Regions from separate parts of the Homo sapiens genome. Here region 2 is linked to region 1. The links are contacts of gene promoters, found by promoter capture Hi-C in human tissues and cell types (Jung and others, 2019). All regions are on one chromosome and are shown on one strand. Each heading gives the region's core, a stretch centred on a gene start or on the middle of the fragment in contact. The rest is flanking DNA. Distances are from core to core; before and after follow the strand shown. Region 1 holds the start of OCSTAMP (osteoclast stimulatory transmembrane protein). Region 2 overlaps SLC13A3 (solute carrier family 13 member 3).

What was found. Contacts are between HindIII fragments. The study calls those that stand out against the background at their distance.
Region 2: a fragment that was not itself captured here is called in contact with the fragment with the promoter of OCSTAMP in region 1 in 2 of the 25 tissues and cell types used here (aorta and spleen).

The regions. Positions count from the first base shown.
Region 1 is chr20:46,549,288-46,551,987 of GRCh38, reverse strand. OCSTAMP (osteoclast stimulatory transmembrane protein) reads left to right here and starts at 1,334. Exons shown (of 3, transcript NM_080721.3): 1 at 1,334-1,471. The coding sequence starts at 1,428. The HindIII fragment of the contact is 9,290 bases long and covers 1-2,700 here.
Region 2 is chr20:46,622,517-46,625,216 of GRCh38, reverse strand. All of the region lies in intron 1 of SLC13A3 (solute carrier family 13 member 3), which reads left to right. Among named protein-coding and RNA genes, the nearest start is that of SLC13A3, 28 kb to the left of the region's middle. RefSeq lists an enhancer at 2,528-2,700. The HindIII fragment of the contact is 3,883 bases long and covers 1-2,700 here.

The DNA of each region.
Region 1 (2,700 bases), core at 85-2,584:
GGGAAAGTGGCTGTGCCCCTACTGGTCCATCCCACAGAGGGGGAGCCTGGGGGGCTCAGGGGAGGCCTGCTGGGAGTGATGGGGTACAGAGATGCTGGAGAGGTGTCTGCATTCCAGGTAGGAACTGGCTTTCAGGACAGCCTGAAAGCAGACCTGCAGGGCACTAACTGCAGAGGGTGTGCGTGGGGAATTTACATTATTGAGTACCTACTATTTGCAGTACCAGCTGTACTATGAAGTAATCACGAGGTCTGTGAATTATCCCCTCCACAGCAGCAGAGCCCAGTGGCTAACTGGTATACCCTGAAGCCAGCCCGCTGGTTAGAAATCACGGCAGTACCATTAATAGCTGAGTGGCGTGGTTGGCGACGTAGCTCTCTGAGTCTCAGTTTTCTGAGCTGAAGAATGAAAATAACATCTTTACCATAAAGGGATGTTCAAAGTAAGTGTTCAGTGAATTTGAAGAGAAATTGTTTAGAAGAATGCCTGATACATAGTAAGTGCTCAATAAATGTTAACTGTTATTTTCATTAACTATTTTTTTTTGAGACGGAGTCTCGCTCTGTGCCCAGGCTGGAGTGCAGTGACGTGATCTCAGCTCACTGCAACCTTGTCTCCTAGGTTCAAGTGATTCTCCTGCCTCAGCCTCCCGAGTATCTGGAACTACAGGTATGCACCACCACAAACCAGATAATTTTTGTATTTTTAGTAGAGACAGGGTTTCACCATGTTGGTCAGGCTGATCTCAAACTCCTGACCTCAGGTGATCCACCCCCCTCAGCCTCCCAGAGTGCTGGGATTACAGATGTGAGCCACTGTGCCCAGCCTCATTAAACTTTTTTTAAGGGGAGAAAACCAGCAGAGAGATATGAGGTCACCTGCCCAAGGTCTCATAGCTAGGGAGGGACAGAGCTGAGATTTGAAGCGAGGTACAAGTCAGGCTAAAGACAGGAAGGGGGCTGGGGAAGGAGACCAGAGCCACTGCTCCCAGTACTTGGCAGGGGTCTGATTATCACCTGTGAGTCCCAAGAGCAGGGATCAGGCTCCCCTTGGGGCACACAACTATGGAGTGGGAGGGAAAGGGAAGCTGTATGGTTTCTCTGTGCCTCAGTTTCCTTCTCTGTAAAATGGGGCTAATTCTACCTTCCTGCTACCAAGATTAGAGACATCGCTTGGAAAAGGCTGTCTTTTCCTCTTCCCACACCTTCCACCCGCTCTTGCTTGTGGGCAGAGGATGAGGCAGCTTGCCCAACCCTCTGGGAGGTGGGCCCCGAAAAGGGCGGGACAAGGCAGCCAGGAGAGCTTCATTAAAGAGTGGAAAAGCAGAAGTGGCAGGGATTCCCAAGTCCCAGCGATTCCCCCACTTCCTCTCCACCTGCCACAGCTGCCAGCGACCGCCCGCCTGAAACCACTGCCATTTGGACAGCATGCCAGGCCACCCAGGAGCAGCTGAGCAACTTGTCAAGACCGGGTAGGTCTGGGGACTTTGGACACTGAGGGCTACAGGTGAGAAAACAGTCAGCCATTGGGGGTGATGGATATGAACCCAAATCTTCAGCTCTGCCATTCCTTGGCTATGTGACCTTAGGCAAATCCTCAGTTCTCTGTGAGCCTCAGTTCCCCATCTGTGAAATGGAAGTAATAATGACATCTACAAGACTGTTGCCAGAATTGAATGAGAAAACACATGCTTAGTACTTGGCACCTGCTTGGCTCAGAGGAAGCACTCACTAAACAGCAGCTAGTTTCCTTGCCATTTTCAATACCCCGTGCAGGAATTGTCATCCAATATGACTTAGGACTGGCTTTCAATCCTTAAAATTGTTTTTATTATTAGCTATTATTCCAAAAGCTACTGTGTTCCAAATATTAATTATATAGTAGAAGGGGGTGTTTAGTCCCAAATTCAAATGCCTTCGGGAGCTGGGAAGGGGTTGCACCTGTGGAAGGCCACCTGGGTGTGCAGACGGACCCGTTCATTGATCAGCAGGATGCAGTCTGCAGGGCTGCTCCCCTGTCAAAGGTGGGTAGTGGATACTCAGCTCCAGCTACCTGTTGCAAAGGTGGGAGCTCTAACCCAGATCTTCTTATCTCTCAAGAAAAGCTGGAAACCCAGATTTTAATGTGAAACTTCCTTATTTCCAAATGGGGGCAGCTTACACACACACACACACACACAGAGTGGGCCACAATAAGGCACATTTGCATATGATTCAGCCTTTAGGGCTTCAAGGTTGTGACCTTCACTCCAGCCCCACAGGCCTCACTGCATCTCAGCTTCCCACTGTTCTGGTTCTCCCAACTCCCTATTTCCCGATGGTCAGAGCACAGGACCTTTGCACACGCTGTTCCTTCTGTCAGGGATGTCCAACTCCCTTCTTCACCCACAAACTGACACTTGTCCTTCCACCCCCAGCTGGAATGTCACCTCTTCCAGGGAGCCTTCCTGACTCCCAGGTAAAACTGGGTCACTCTCCATCTATCCCACCCCAGTCCAGGCCCAGGCATACTATGCTCAGAATTCTTTGTTAATGAACTTAAACTCTAATGGTCTATTTAAGTCTCCTCAATTAGACTGTGAACTCCTTTAGTGGGACCAGGACTTAATTCATCTTTGTGTCCACAGGGGTCAGCACAGAGCCTGGGCACAGAGGAGACTCGAGTGAAACATTTACATCGTTGACATAAGTATCATCAGAG
Region 2 (2,700 bases), core at 201-2,700, 73 kb before region 1:
GCTGGAAGCTGGGAGAGAAAGAGGAAAGAGAGATTATTGTCTCCTGAGTTCCCCTTTACGGTTTCATCTCTTCTTCCTTATTTTCTTAAGCAAGGTTTGTGACAGCCACAGTGAAAGAAGCCAGGGGGCAGGAAAAGACAAGGAGCCTAGCAGGTGCATGACTCCTGCCCCTCAGCTTCCCTTTACAGCAGACCCTTCTCTTGTGAGCATTACAGAGTCGGGAGACTAGAGGATCTCCCCCTTCTCAGAACACTTCACAGCCCTTCCCTTGGGTTTTTTTTCCCCTGGCTGCTCCCCCTCTAGTTCCTGGTTTCCTATATATGGGAACTCCCTTAGGGGTCCTATATCACTTAGAAGCAGACCTCTTAGGCAGGATTTTAAAGAGGACCTGGGCTGAAATTCTCACTTCAGAACCACATCTGGTCTTTAGAAATACTTGGGCTTTCCCTCCTCACATCTTTGGAATGTTGGTCCAGCTAGGGTTGAGGGATAAAACACAGGGTGCTAAGTTCACTTTGAATTTCAGATGAACAAGGAGTCATTTTTAAACTATAAGTATATCCCAAATAGTGCATGGGATATACTTATGCTAAACAATTTTGCTGCTATCCATCCTAATACTGATTGGATATTTGGGAATAGCTTGTCTAGCTCTCTCCATCTCCCCCTTGTGTAATAGCATAATGCTATGAGCAGCTTGCCTTGTGTCTACCCAGCAGGCTGTCCACTACTTTCATCTCTGTGACCCTGGTCAGGCTACTTATTCACTCTGTGCTTCAGTTGCATTATCTGCTAAATGGAGATAATCATGGAACCTCCTGCATAGGGCTGTTGTGACAATCACAATTAAACTGAGATAATACACAGGTACAGTTGTTTGGGCAGTGTCTGCCACATAGCAAATTCTCAATAGGTATTGACTGTTATTAGTATTATTATGGTGATAGTGATTGTTGTTGCTATTGCATGAAGAGAGGAAGAACTAGAGCCTCCAGATAGGTTATTTTCTGGAGAAAGGAGCCAGAACTAGAAGGATGGGGTTCCTGTGAATGAGGAATTGGCAAGGAACAGGATGGTTATTATTAGCATGCCTTGTGGGAGACAGTGAGGCAGAGATGGGGAGTCATGGAGGGGCAGAGATGGCAAGGAGCCAGGAAGCTTGAGAGAGGTTCTCTTGGCCTAGGAACGAGAGAGATTTTCAGGCATGCTAGAGAATAGAGAGGATGTAGGCATTTGACAAGAACACCCACGGATTGTGCAGAAATACATAGTGATAAAGAGAAAACTCTGGTCAGACCACCTGGGTTCAAATCCTGACTGCCTCAGCAGCTATGGGCAAGTTACTTGACTTTTCCTGTTTGCCTCCATGTCCCATCAGTAAAATAGAGCTAATAATATCTGCCTCAAAGGATTGTTTTGAAAATAAAATGAGTTCACAAATGCAATTACTTGGAAATTAATTGCTTGCTAATTAATTGCTAGCGATCGTTATACTTTGAGTCCCTTAAATGTTTAAAAGAGAAGAGTTTAAAAATTAGAATTCCTGTTTAGACTACACAGTTTGTAAGCTGCAACACTACCCTGGGACTGAATTACCTGGGACACAGCATTGTATGCATGACCTAAATAGACATCTTTTTATAATTTCCCCCAAAACAGAGGGGGAAAGTAATAGTACCTTCCTGAATCCAGGTGTGTCAGTGTATGCCTGTCATCCCAGCTACTTGGGAGGCTGAGATGGGAGGTTCACTTGAGCCCAGGAATTCAAGACCAGCCTGGGCAACATAGTTAGACCTTGGTTCAAAAAAAGATAGAGAGGAAAGGAAAAGAAAAGATTGTTAGGGGCATTACATGAGTTAATACATAGAAGACGCCTGAAACTTAGAGAATACTCAAAAAATGTTGGTGATTGTGATTGTCATTATACTGTAGTTATTCTTCTGCATAGAGATGTGAAGCTGCATAGAAAAGGAAACTCTCACCAGAGCTCCTGAGAATTGAAATTTTCCAGGTGACTGCATGTCACTGTTCTCAACCATTGTATTCCATTTTCTTTTCTTTTAATGCCCTTGTCAGGATCACCCAGGTAACAGGGTTATCCTGTCCTCATAAAATGAATTGGGAAGTGTTCCCTTTTTCTCTGCTCTCTGAAAGAGTTTGTGCAAGATGGTATTATTTATTCCTTCAATGTTTGGTAGAATTACCATTGAAGCCAGAAGGGCTTGGAGCTTTTTCGTGGGGAGGTTTTTAATGATTGATTCAGTTTCTTCAATAGACACTGAAATATTCAACTTTTTAATTTCTTTTTCTGATAGTTGAGAAAGGTATGTTTTTATCAGGAAGTTCCTCTGGTTACTTGAAATCATCAAAGTTATTGGTAAAAAGTTGTTCAAACTATCCCTTTGTATCCCTTTGATATTGTAAGATCTGAGTCATGTCTTTTTAAAATTCTTGTCATCTATTAAGTTCTGACCTTAGAGTGTCCCTAGCAGGGAAGCTATATTGCCTTCTTAAATTTGTAACTTTGTTGCTATTCATGAGTATCAGACACACACACACACACACACACACACACACACACACACACACACACACGCACACACCACACACCAATTCCTGTTGAGTTAGAGGAGCAAATTTGCAAGAATCCCCTACTGCTCCAGAAATCTGCCCTCATATTTTAAAGTACAATAGGCAAAT